Regions from separate parts of the Homo sapiens genome. Here regions 2, 3 and 4 are each linked to region 1. The links are contacts of gene promoters, found by promoter capture Hi-C in human tissues and cell types (Jung and others, 2019). All regions are on one chromosome and are shown on one strand. Each heading gives the region's core, a stretch centred on a gene start or on the middle of the fragment in contact. The rest is flanking DNA. Distances are from core to core; before and after follow the strand shown. Region 1 holds the start of FGFBP3 (fibroblast growth factor binding protein 3). Region 2 overlaps XLOC_008559 (a long non-coding RNA gene). Region 3 overlaps PCGF5 (polycomb group ring finger 5). Region 4 has its middle 130 kb from the start of IDE.

Region 1 (3,279 bases), core at 455-2,954:
TTTAATAGAAATGTTAAACAATAAACATTGCATCCCCCTCCCCACATGGGACTCACATCACTTTAGTCACTCTATCTCCCCCTTATTCTCAGCCTCCCTCTGCATCGATTTCTCTCCCCAGTCTCCAGTTTTTGCACATTTAAAGTACGCCTATTTCTGTTTCCATTATTTTTCCTGCTCTTAATCAGGACTGAGACTTTTCAAAATTTTTAACTTCTCTGCTATCCCAGAGATTCTCCATACCCCTTACACTCTCATCCCAAGCATCTCACCCTTACCCTTGCCCCCACCCCCATTCGAGAACCTGGACTTCTCCCCAATCTCTATCACAGTACCCCCCGGTCTAAGACGCCCTTAGCTTTCCCTTCCCCACGCCTCCCCCATCAACCCTCCCTAAGCCGGCAGGCAGTCTCAGCCGTTCCAGAAATTGACAAAGAAGTTGCAGAGGGAGTGCCACTTCTCAGCGCAGTAGGTCTCCGTGAGCTCCGCGTTCCCGTCCAGCCCGTCGGGGTCGGGCCCGGTCCCCATGGGTCGCTCCTCGTTGGGGACCAAGGCCGCCTTCCTCTTGCCCTCGTTGGTCTTCCTCTCTGAGGGGTTTTCTTTGGGCGGTGCGCTTTGGGGAGGCGGGGTCCCAGCGGCTGGGCCGGACGCACGCTCCCGGGTCCGCCCCCGGTTCCGGGCCCGGGGCTTGGACTCCCCCGCGAATCCCGCGACGGTGGGGCGTGCGGGCGGGGACGCGCGGGGCACTAGCCGCAGCTCGGCGCCGTGGCCCTTCTTGCCCGCGCACAAGCGGGCCTGGAGCGGCGCGGGGTCGTGACAGGGCCTCCGCTTCTTGCGCAGCCCTCCCAGCACCTGCTTCCAGAAGTGCGCGCGGCGAGCGGCGTAGGCTGCGCAGCGCTCCGGATGCCCGCGGTAGGCGCACTGGTGGCGCGCCCCGTCCGGGCTCTGGCAGCGCAGCGCCAGCTCGCTGCCCGCTGCGGCCTCCGGGGCGGGCAGCAGGAGCTGCCAGCTGCACGCGTGCTGCTCGGGGCTGAGGAAGCGACCCGAGGAGCCGCCAGTGGGCCCGGGGACCGGCTCCGCCACGTTGCTAGCCGCCCCTTTCTCCCTCCGAGCAGCCGCGAGGAGGCAACCACTCAGCAGCAGCAGCAGCGACGGCGACAGCGACGCTCGCAGCTTCGGAGGAGTCATGCTCCGCGGTTTCCGCGCTCCGCTGTTCTCAGACCACGTTTGTCGGGGCTGGACCAGGCAAAGAGCATTCCCCAGGACCTGCGGACAGAGGCAGAGACTGCCACCAACTGAGCCACACGCAGCGCTTCGCCCAGACACATGCACCTGCGAACTACTCTTCCGCAGACTTTCTAGAATCTGCAGCCTGCGAGGAGACCCTCTGAGGAGCTTTCCTGGGGAAACTGCTTACTGTCTAAATAATCACTTTCGAACCATGTATGCATTGAGATTTTCTTCCCCTTGCAAATACGATAGCAAAACGATGCGTGATAATTGCCCCCTCTACCCCTTCCTTCATTTTCTCCCTTCTCCAACCTGCAATAAACTATCTACAAAATCATTTCAGATGATTCCTTGGAAACATGCACTTTACTACACTTTGAACTTACCGAGTTCTGGGAGAGGCGCCAAAGCCTTATTAGGGTAGAGGGAACGACTGCACGGGGGAGTAGTCTGTTTTAGCCGGCTCCCTGTGAATGAACGTGGTATCAATGGAACAGAAGAGGCCTACCCTTCTTCGCCCCTCCCCGATTTCTCTCACACTGGGAGACTTATCACCGCCGCGCTTCTCTCTCTCTCTCCCTCTCTCTCTCTGTCTCTCCAGATGGATGATGGAAGCGGTCCTGTAGTATGAAATACAAATCTTGTATTTTGCTTCCAATGTTTAAAATAATCAGGCAAAATTAACCAAGTTTTTCTTCTTTCATGTACTTAACCATCCAAAAAATAAAAATTAAACAAAAGATCTAAGTTTTAAAAGTTAAATAAAATGAAACAAAACAAACTTCAGTATTCTAAACTAGGCATTTTTTACACAATTATATCATTTACATTCTATTTCTCATATTCTGAGTTCTACATTTTTACCTATTATTTCCAATAGCCTTTCTTAAGACTCTCAATCTTAATAATTGTTACTACTAATAAAAATATAATATCCTAGTTTATTAACATACAATAGTGCCCAGCAGTTCACCCAGGAGTGGACATTTGGGCTTTTTATTATTTTTAGGTATTAGAAATCAGTTATAAGGGTCCTCCAAAAATTAGAAGTTTAAAAAAATTATTTGTATTATAGTAGTTGAACGGTAAGATTACCAATTGAAATGGTATAATAGTTAAGAATGTGAGACCAGCCTGGCCTGGTGAAATCCCGTCTCTACTAAAAATACAAAAATTAGCCAGGCGTGGTGGCAGATGCCTGTAATCCCAGCTACTCAGGAGGCTGAGGCAGGAGAATCACTTGAACCCGGGACAGGGCGAGACTGCCTCTCAAAAAAAAAAAAAAAGAGAGAGAGAATGAATGTGTTCTTGAATCTTGAAAATGTTACATTTAAGCAAAGCTGCTTTTTCTGGAGGGGGGGATTGTGTGTGTGTGCGGGGGTTTGTTTGTTTGTTTGTTTGTTTGTTTGTTTTGAGACGGGAGCTCACTCTGTCACCCAGGCTGGAGCGCAGTGGTGCTATCTCGGCTCACTGCAACCTCTGCCTTCCCGGTTCAAGCGATTCACCTGCCTCAGCCTCCCCAGTAGCTGGAATTACAGGTGCCTGCCACAACACCCAGCTAATTTTTAGTGGAGAAGGGGTTTCACCATGTTGCCCAGTCTGGTATCGAACTCCTGACCTGAGATGAGCCACCTGCCTCAGCCTCTCAAAGTGCTGACCAAGCAAAGCTGTTTTTTCTTTCTTTTTTTTTTTTTTTGCTCTTTTTAAAATTTTTATTTAGAAGCCTACTTGTAGAAGTTAGCATAATTTTACAGATTATTAGAAAAATTCAATTATTTTCTCTCTGCAAACAGTTATAATAGGTTAGGAATAATAGATTAGAAATGTACTACATTGCAAAAACAGTGGCCTATAACTATCTGTACATTTACTGTGCACCTTAAGGAAAAGAATTTGACAGTGTGCTATACTTACACTGCAGGTAACATATTTTTATTCTATCACACAAAACTGACCAGTGGTAGTGCTTGAATTTATAAATGGCCATTAAACAGAATATTTAAACTGAGATGTATATTTAGCATGCTAAAAAGTGAAAAAAATTTCAAC
Region 2 (3,279 bases), core at 205-2,704, 960 kb before region 1:
TTTTCTAAATATACAATCATGTCATCTGCAAACAGAGACAATTTGACTTCCTCTCTTCCTATTGGAATACACTTCATTTCTTTCTCTTGCCTAATTGCCCTGGCCAGAACTTCCAACATTGTGTTGAATAGGAGTGGTGAGAGAGGGTATCCCTGTCTTGTGCTGGTTTTCAAAGGGAATGCTTCCAGCTTTTGCCCATTAAGTATGATATTGCCTGTGGGTTTGTCATAAATAGCTCTTACTATTTTGAGGTACGTTCCATCAAAACTTAGTTTATTGAGAGTTGTTAGCATGAAGGGGTGATGAATTTTATCGAAGGCCTTTTCTGCATCTATTGAAATAATCATGTGGTTTTTGTCATTGGTTCTGTTTATGTGATGGATTATGTTTATTGATATGCATATGTTGAACCAGCCTTGCATCCTAGGAATGAAGCCAACTTGATTGTGGTGGATAAGCTTTTTGATTTGCTGCTGGATTCAGTTTGCCAGTATTTTATGGAGGATTTTTGCATCAATGTTCATCAGGGATATTGGCCTGAAATGTTCTTTTTTGTGTGTGTCTCTGCCAGGTTTTGGTATCATGATGCTGGCCTCATAAAATGAATTAGGGAGGAGCCCTTCTTTTTCTATCATTTGGAATAGTTTCAGAAGGAATGATACCGGCTCCTCTTTGTACTGCTGGTAGAAGTCGGGTGTGAGTCCCTCTGGTCCTGGGCTTTTTTTGGTTGGTAGGCTATTAATTACTGCCTCAATTTCAGAACTTGTTATTGGTCTATTCAGGGATTCCACTTCTTCCTGGTTTAGTCTTAGGAGGGTGTATGTATCTAGAAATTTATCCATTTCTTCTAGATTTTCTAGCTTATTTGCATAGAGGCATTTATAATATTCTCTGATGGTAATTTGTATTTCTGTTGGATCAGTAGTAATACCCTCTTTATCATTTTTTATTGTGTCTATTTGATTCTTCTCTTTTTTCTTATTAGTCTGGCTAGTGGTCTATTTTGTTAATCTTTTCAAAAAACCAGCTCCTGGATTCATTGAATTTTTGAAGTGTTTTTTGTGTCTCTGTTTCCTTCAGTTCTGCTCTGATCTTAGTTATTTCTTGTTTCCTGCTAGCTTTTGAATTTATTTGCTCTTGCTTATCTAGTTCTTTTAATTGTGATGTTAGAGTGTCAATTTTAGATCTTTCCCACTTTCTCCTGTGGGCATTTAGTGCTACAAATTTCCCTCTAAACACTGCTTTAGCTGTGTCCCAGAGATTCTGGTACGTTGTGTCTTTGTTCTCATTGGTTTCAAAAAACTAATTTATTTCTGCCTTAATTTCGTTATTTACCTAGTAGTCATTCAGGAGCAGGTTGTTCAGTTTCCATGTAGTTGTGCAGTTTTGACTGGGTTTCTTAATCCTGAGTTCTAATTGGATTACACTGTGGTCTGAGAGACTGTTTGTTATTATTTCCATTCTTTTGCATTTGCTGAGGCGTGTTTTACTTCCAATTATGTGGTCAATTTTAGAATAAGTGTGATGTGGTGCTGAGAAGAATGTATATTCTGTTGATTTTGGGTGGAGAGCTCTGTAGATGTCTATTAGGTCTGCTTGGTCCAGAGCTGAGTTCAAGTCTTGAATATCTTTGTTAATTTTCTGTCTTGTTGATCTGTCAAATATTGACAGTGGGGTGTTGAAGTCTCCCAATATTATTGTGTGGGAGTCTAAGTCCCTTTGTAGGTCCCTAAGAACTTGCCTTATGAATCCAGATGCTCCTGTATTGGGTGCATATATATTTAGGATAGTTAGCTCTTCTTGTTGCATTGTAATGCCCTTTGTTGTATTTTTTGATCTTTGTTGGTTTAAAGCCTGTTTTATCAGAGACTAGGATTGCAACCCCTTGTTTTTTTTTTTTTTTTTTTTTTTTTGGCTTTGCATTTGCTTGGTAAATATTCCTTCTTCTCTGTATTTTGAGTGTATGTGTGTCTTTGCACGTGAGATGGGTCTCCTGAATACAGCACACCGAAGGGTCTTGACTCTATCCAATTTGCCAGTCTGTGTCGTTTAATTGGGGGCATTTAGCCCGTTTACATTTAAGGTTAATGTTATGTGTGAATTTGATCCTTTCATTATGATGCTAGCTGGTTATTTTGCCCATTAATTGATGCGGTTTATTCACAGTGTTGATGGTCTTTACAATTTGGTATGTTTTTGCAGTGGCTAGTAATAGGTTTTCCTTTCCATATTTAATGCTTCCTTCAGGAGCTCTTGTAAGGCAGGCCTGGTGGTGAAAAAATCCCTCAGCGTTTGCTTGTCTGTAAAGAATTTTATTTCTCCTTCGTTTATGAAGTGTAGTTTGGCTGGATATGAAATTCTGGGTTGAAAATTCTTTTCAAGAATGTTGAATATTGGCCCTCACTCTCTTCTGGCTTGTAGAGTTTCTGCAGAGAGATCTGCTGTTAGTCTGATGGGCTACCCTTTGTGGGTAACCCGACCTTTCTCTCTGGCTGCCCTTAACATTTTTTCCTTCATTTCAACCTTAGTGAATCTGAAGATTATATGTCTTGGGGTTGCTCTTCTTGCAGAGTGTCTTTGTGGTGTTCTCTGTATTTCCTGAATTTGAATGTTGGCCTGTCTTGCTAGGTTGGGAAAGTTCTCCTGGATAATATCCTGAAGAGTGTTTTCCCACTTGGTTCCATTCTCCTCGTCACTTTCAGGTACACCAATCAAATGTAGATTTGGTCTTTTCACATAGTCCCATATTTCTTGGAGGCTTTCTTTGTTCCCTTTCACTCTTTTTTCTCTAGCTTGTCTTCATGCTTTATTTCATTATGTTGATCTTCAATCTCTGATATCCTTTCTTCCACTTGATCAATTCAGCTATTGATACTTGTGTATGCTTCAGGAAGTTCTTGTGCTGTGTTTTTCAGCTCCATCAGGTCATTTATGTTCTTCTCTAAACTGGTTAGTCTAGTTAACAATTCCTCTAACCTTTTATCAAGGTTCTCAGCTTCCTTGCATTGGGTTAGAACATGCTCCTTTAGCTCGGAAGAGTTTGTTATTACCCACTTTCTGAAGCTTACTTCTGTCAATTCATCAAACTCATTCTCCATCCAGTTTTGTTCCCTTGCTGGCAAGGAGTTGTGATCCTTTGAAGGAGAAGAGGTGTTCTGGTTTTTGGAATTTTCAGCCTTTTTGCACTGATTTTCCCTCATTTTTGTGGATTTATCTACCTTTGGTCTTTGATGTTGGTGACGTTCAAATGGGGTTTTTGTGTGGACATCCTTTTTATTG
Region 3 (3,279 bases), core at 341-2,840, 630 kb before region 1:
CTTGTACCATTTCTCCTTGGGAACTCATGCTATGGGCTACCTTAAAGGTAAAACTCATCTTATGGAGTCTTTCTGATAGGTCACTAGGTAAAACTCCTTGGATAGGGTGAAAATGGATGCACACTCTATTACATACTCTGGTTTATCATAAGGAATTTTCCAGAAAGCTAAGCTTTATACTAATAAGATATTGGTTGGTAGTAGGAACTTCAAAAATGAATGAGTTTGCCATAACTTTAATTTTCTGGATTAGAAACACAAAACTTGAAATGCAATTATCAATATTTTGTAATATATATTCCTACAGTTTGGGTAGAAATAAGGAACATGTCTGCTAGATCTGGTTTATGAAAAAGTGAAAAATATTAAATACACCAGAGACTCAAACCCTTTCAAGGCACACAATAACTGTTCTGGATTTACCTGACAAACCTAGTTGAGTAGCATTTTGACAGAAAATATCAGACTGAAAGTTCATTCAAATGTACTTAAATGTACAATACAGTGTTCAATAGTTTTTATTGCAGTGATGTTTTTCCAATAATTTAAGTAATTCTCTTCCTAGTATAATACAGTTTTCATAAATAATGTTTACTTGCTTTCTTTATATTTTCAAATAAAATTAAAATGCTCGAGCACTTCCTTTCAGAAAGTTATAAAATTAAAAATAATTATTTTAAATGCTCATTCAAATGTGTCTGTATACTTGCTATGCCCCTTTTTCTATAATTCCAAACTGAGACTGATTTTTCAGAGATTTTTAACTTTAATAATTTTAAATCTAGAATCAAGTGAAACAGATATGTTAAATACTGAGTCTAGTTTTCTTCCATCTTATGGAGCTTCATGGAATAAGAAACTAATCTAGTGCAAATGAAGATTAAATATTTCTGGGTGATGGAGAGATAGTCAACAAATTTATTTATCCATCCTCTGCACATCAGTCCACTGGAGCAGGAGTTCTACACATTAAAAATGTAATGGGATCAGCCTAGCATTGTTTGGTGTTCTTTTGTTGTATTTTTTAGAATGGGGGTGGGGGCCTAAGTGTCCTTATGAAGCTGTGGTCCACGACAGGAGCTTGTTGGGGGAGTACCAGGGTTCTGCTGCTTTCCTGCATCTGAGCAACACAACAGAGATCATCAGTTTTAAATAGAGTAGCCCTCACAATCAAAATATCATAGAATATATTGTAAAGTTATGTTGCTAATTTTCCTTTGAAATATAAAATATTTTAAGCTTTTTGTCAAAAGTGGTAACATCTTAATACAAATAAAAACCTTTTTGTGGTTGTAAGATTTAGCTTATAAATCATTCAAATTGAAGTGAAAGAATTACCAGGTCATTGTTAATGACTTAGTCTATTAAGAATATATGTATTTTTGTAAAGGAAAAGCACTTGTAGATATTTAATCAGTACAAGATATGTCTTTTGCAGAAATAAAATGCTGCTTAGAGATTCTCCTTAAATATTTTTTATTTTTGTGCTCAAATGTATTTTCTGTTGATCTATGGAATGTTCTGTACAAAGCTGTATAATTGTACTGTTGGGCTAGATACTTTTTTTTTTTAATCTGGACTTAGCCAAGTATATTTCACCATGTTAAAATACAGTATCTTTGTTATTAAAAATTAAATTGCATAATTTATTATTGTTTGTCATCTTTAATATTAGTCACTGTAGATTGCAGCCTTCATTAAAAATATCTCCTTTAAGTACTAGTCCTGTAGCAAATTTTATTGAAATTTATTGAGTATTTGAGATCATAAATATTTTCTAAGGATTCTTCAGCTGTTTATTTTAAAATGGCACACTGTCCCTCAAATACTAGTTAAGGTGTATACACACACACCCTTGAAGGATTTTTTGTTTTGTTAGATTAATCAAATCCAAAAGAACGTTTTGAAAGTAATTAGGAATCAAAGGCAGGCCCAAGTGAATTGAAAGAAAGACTGTTTCCTTCAGCCAGTTAGATAGCTAAGCTTTGTTTATTAATACTTTCCATGTGCACTTGCCTCAGGAATTCATTAGGCCAAAGCAAGACATTTACGTCAGGAACACTGTGATGGTTTCTAGCTCGGCCCCATTGTGATTTTGATGCCTGAAGCTTTGTCTTAATGTTAGTGAAACGTTGGAGGTAGCTAGAAACCCCAGTCCTTCGGTGAGATAGGGAAAGCAGCTTTCCTCTGAGCAGAATTTGGCTTCCTTCTGTATTTGAGCTCCACTCTCTTCAAGGCTGCTGCAGAATGGGAAAGAATGTGGAGGACTGTGCATGGGAAGTGCTGGAACATGTAGCACACATTGCTTTCATCACATGTCACTGGCCAGCACATGGCCTCACCTAACAGCAAGCAAGGCCGGAGGACCTAGTGAAGCCACATCCCAAGGAGGAAGAGGAAAGTTTTGTGACCTGCTAATGTCTGCCATACCCTACATTTGCAAAAAGAGGTCACAGTTGCTTTAGGTCTTAGAAGTGTGTTGTCCACACAGGCTCAGCACTTATCTTTTCACTGGTTTGGAAAGGGAAAGAGGGGTCTTGCACTCAGGCCAGGCATGAGAAGCTTGGGAGTCACTCTGCTCTTCGTGTGGCTGGGGAACATGCAGGTAGTATTTTGCTGGAAGCCATGTACAACCCCACTTGGCACCCCAACCCTTGCCGTGGACTTTGCAGTGCCAGGATTTGCCACTAGCAATCAAATAGAGAATAATGCCTGGAGAGGACAAATATGCAGCGATCACTACCAGTAGAAACCAGCAAAGCCCTGTTCCTCTTTACAGAGCCCAGCCTTCCTTACACAGTTCTCCTTCTAAGAAGCCCTGCTCCTCCTTACAAAGCCCCACTCATCCCTACAGAACCTGCTCCCTCTTCAAAGCCCAACTGCTCCTCAGGAAGCACCTCCACTACAAAAGCCTCTCCTCCCTAAAAAGACCTGTTCCTGCAAAGAACTTTTGATCCTCTTAGGAAGCCCTGCTCCTCCTACAAGCTCTGTTTCTGCATATAGTGCCTTGCTCCTCCTCAAAAGGTCTGCTTATCCTTATCCTGCTCCTCCTACAAACCCTGCTCTTCTTTGGAATCCCAGCTCCTCCAAAGAATCTCTAGTCCTCCCAAGGAAACCTTGGAAGTCTTGCTCCTCCTACAAAGTCCTGTTCCTTCTTACAGTGCCCTGCTCCTCTCTACAGAGCCTGCTGCTCCTACAAAGCCCTGCTCCATTTTACAAAACTTGTTTCTACAGATACCTCTTCTTCCTCACAAAGTCCTCTTTCTCCTTACAAAGGCC
Region 4 (3,279 bases), core at 442-2,941, 530 kb after region 1:
CTTGAACTCCTGACCTCAGGTGATCTGCCCACCTCGGCCTCCCAGAGTGCTGGGATTACAGACATGAGCCATTGCACCTGGCCTATAGTTTGTTTTCTTTTTTTTTAGACAGAGTCTCGCTCTGTCTCCCAGGCTGGAGTGCAGTGGCACAATCTCAGCTCACTGCAACCTCTGCCTCCTGGGTTCAAGCGATTCTCCTGCCTCAGCCACCTGAGTAGTTGGGATCACAGGCGCCCGCCACCACGCCTGGCTAATTTTTGTATTTTTAGTAGAGACAGTGTTTCACCATGTTGGTCAGGCTGGTCTCAAACTCCTGACCTCAGGTGATCCGCTCACTTGGCCTCCCAAAGGGCTGGGATTACAGGTGTTAGCCACCGTGCCCGGCCTGACTGGGCTCCTTCTGATTGGTTGCTGCAATCACATGTTTTTAGGAAAAATGGTCTACTTGGGGTTTTCCTGCTTCCTTAAAGTTTCAGTTGGAGGCTGGGCGTGGTGGCTTACCCCTGTAATCCTAGCACTTTTGAGAGGCTGAGGTGGGCAGATTGCCTGAGCTCAGGAGTTTGAGACCAGCCTGGGCAACAAGGCAAAACCCCATCTCTACTAAAAATACAAAAAATTAGCTGGGTGTGGTGGTGCACACCTGTAGTCCCAGCTATTTGGGAGGCTGAGGCAGGAGAATTGCTTGAATCCGGGAGACAGAGGCTGCAGCAAGTTGAGATTGCACCACTGCACTCCAGCCCGGGTGACAGAGAGAGATTCTGTCTCAAAAAAAAAAAAAAAAAGAAAAAAGTTTAGGTTGGGTGTGGTGGCTCACGCCTGTAATCCCAACACTTTGGGAGGCCGAGGCAAGCGGATCACCTGAGGTCGGGAGTTTGAGACCAGCCTGACTAACGTGGAGAAACCCCGTCTCTACTAAAAATATAAAATTAGCCAGGTGTGGTGATTCATGCCTGTAATCCCAGCTACTTGGGAGGCTGAGGCAGGAGAATCGCTTGAACCCGGGAGGCAGAGGTTGCTGTGAGCCGAGATTGCGGCAACAAGAGCGAAACTCCGTCTCAAAAAAAAAAAAAAGTTTCAATTTGATTGTCTGGCACTTTAGCATGAGTGATTCCATTTTGGTTTGGTCTGCTGGGGCTTAGTGTAGGAGCTCAGTCCAAAATAATGGCCTCCTATAAATTTAACCCAGGCTATCAAAGATAAACAAAGCTGGACTTTAATTGAAGTGGTGACAACTGATGTTATTCAGTAACTATTGACAGTAGTGGAAACAGCTGAACTCCATTCTAATTTATACAAGGTGCCTGGGTGTTTTAAAGGGAGAATGAGGGTGTAGGAAGGGGGAGCGACAGGGAACGCAAGTGAAACATTACAAAGGGTTGGTCGGTGTAAATGTGAATAGACTGTGTCTGCAAGCTGGGAATTATGTTTTTTGTTTGTTTTGAGACAGTGTGTCACTCTGTCACCCAGGCTGGAGTATAGTGGCATGATCTTGGCTCACTGTACCCCTAGGCTCAAGTGATCTTCCCACCTCAGCCTTCTGAGTAGCTGGAGGCTGAGGTGGGAGGATTGTCTGGCTAATTTTTTGTATTTTTAGTAGAGACAGGGTCTTGCCACGTTGCCCAGGCTGGTCTTGAACTCCTGAGCTCAAGCAATCCCCTCCGCCTTGGCCTCCCAAAGTGCTGGGATTACAGGCATAAGCCACCATGCCCGGCCACACCAAGCCGGCAATTATGGAAGTTAGGATTCTATCCTCCCACAAAGACTAGGAGACAGAAGCAGTGTTCTCATAATTACATCTTAATTTTTTTTTCTTGAGACGGAGTCTCACTCTGTCGCTCAGGCTGGAGTGCAGTGGTGCAATCTTGGCTCACTGCAACAGCCGCCTCCCAGATTCAAGCAATTCTCCTGTCTCAGCCTCCCGAGTAGTTGGGACTACAGGCGCACACCACCATGCCTGGCTAACTTTTGTATTTTTAGTAGAGACGGGGTTTCACCATGTTGGCCAGGCTGGTCTCGAACTCCTGACCTCAGGTGATCTGCCTGCCTTGGCCTCCCAAAGTGCTAGGATTACAGGCGGCAGCCAATGAACCCGGGGTAATTTTATATTTCTAACTCACCCTACCTTATAGTTGTGGAAAGATTCCTCTGAAACACTTCCCAAAATATCTTTTGCTACAATAAAGAACAAGTGTGGCTGGGCACTGTGACTCATGCATGTAATCCCAGCACTTTGGGAGGCCAGGGAGGGACGATTGCTTGAGCCCAGGAGAGTTTGAGACCAGCCTGGGCAAAATGGCGATATTCCTGTCTCCACAAAAAATTAAAAAATTAGCCAGGTGTGGTGGCGTGCACCTGTAGTCCCAGCTACTCGGAGGCTGAGGCAGGGGGATTGCCTGAGCCTGGGAGTCCGAGGCTGTCAATGAGCTACGATGGTGCTACTGCACTCCAGCCTGGAATGAGACCCCAGCTCTAAAAAATACAAAAAAAAACAGAAAGAAAAGGAAAGAGGCTGGGCGCGGTGGCTCATGCCTGAAATCCCAGCACTTTGGGAGGCCGAGACGGGCGGATCACGAGGTCAGGAGATCGAGACCATCCTGGCTAACACGATGAAACGCCGTCTCTACTAAAAATACAAAAAAAATTAGCCGTGCGTGGTGGCGGGCGCCTGTAGTCTCAGCTACTCGGGAGGCGGAGGCAGGAGAATGGCGTGAACCCGGGAGGCAGAGCTTGCAGTGAGCCGAGATCGCACCACTGCACTCCAGCCTGGGCGACAGAGTGAGACTCCGTACCCCCGCCAAAAAAAAAAAGGAAAAAGAACAAGTGTGTCTACTCTACAGCAGAAATAGAAACTTTGAAAACTATTTTTCTAAATATGTGGTAGAAGCTTTCACTTGGCATTATCAGTACATCTAATTTTAGCTATGCCAGTCTGCATGGAATGGTATCTCATTTTGTTTTTTAAAAAATACTTTTTTCACCAGCAAAGGAGACAAAATAAAATCATGTAAAAAAACTCAAACCAAAAGAAAACATTTAAAAACAATAAAAACAGATTTAAAAAATAGAAAATAAATAGTAAAATAATCAATTTATATCAAACAACTTTTCCCCAGCTTTTTAGTTGCTACAGAACATTTCTGTCTGGGCGCGGTGGCTTACGCATGTAATCCCAGCACTTTGGGAGGCCAAGGCGGGTGGATCACCTGAAGTCAGGAGTTCCAGACCAGCCTGACCAACATGGAGAAACCCCGTCTCTACTAAAAATACAAAATTAGCCAG

The links. Contacts are between HindIII fragments. The study calls those that stand out against the background at their distance.
Region 2: a fragment that was not itself captured here is called in contact with the fragment with the promoter of FGFBP3 in region 1 in 1 of the 25 tissues and cell types used here (lymphoblastoid cells).
Region 3: a fragment that was not itself captured here is called in contact with the fragment with the promoter of FGFBP3 in region 1 in 1 of the 25 tissues and cell types used here (dorsolateral prefrontal cortex).
Region 4: a fragment that was not itself captured here is called in contact with the fragment with the promoter of FGFBP3 in region 1 in 1 of the 25 tissues and cell types used here (dorsolateral prefrontal cortex).

What each region holds. Positions count from the first base shown.
Region 1 is chr10:91,907,782-91,911,060 of GRCh38, forward strand. FGFBP3 (fibroblast growth factor binding protein 3) reads right to left here and starts at 1,705. Exons shown (of 2, transcript NM_152429.5): 1 at 1,617-1,705; 2 at 1-1,266. The coding sequence starts at 1,188. The coding sequence ends at 412. It overlaps FGFBP3-AS1 (FGFBP3 antisense RNA 1), which reads left to right and starts at 348. Exons shown (of 2, transcript NR_199602.1): 1 at 348-468; 2 at 1,116-1,567. RefSeq lists a silencer at 578-1,147 and an enhancer at 1,051-1,345. The HindIII fragment of the contact is 15,807 bases long and covers 1-3,279 here.
Region 2 is chr10:90,951,225-90,954,503 of GRCh38, forward strand. The region is part of intron 3 of XLOC_008559 (a long non-coding RNA gene); the gene reads left to right. Among named protein-coding and RNA genes, the nearest start is that of XLOC_008559, 5.6 kb to the left of the region's middle. The HindIII fragment of the contact is 3,604 bases long and covers 1-3,256 here.
Region 3 is chr10:91,282,616-91,285,894 of GRCh38, forward strand. PCGF5 (polycomb group ring finger 5) reads left to right here. Exons shown (of 10, transcript NM_032373.5): 10 at 1-1,722. Among named protein-coding and RNA genes, the nearest start is that of PCGF5, 64 kb to the left of the region's middle. RefSeq lists an enhancer at 1,773-2,348. The HindIII fragment of the contact is 3,612 bases long and covers 1-3,279 here.
Region 4 is chr10:92,441,054-92,444,332 of GRCh38, forward strand. No RefSeq gene overlaps it. Among named protein-coding and RNA genes, the nearest start is that of IDE, 130 kb to the right of the region's middle. The HindIII fragment of the contact is 5,429 bases long and covers 1-3,279 here.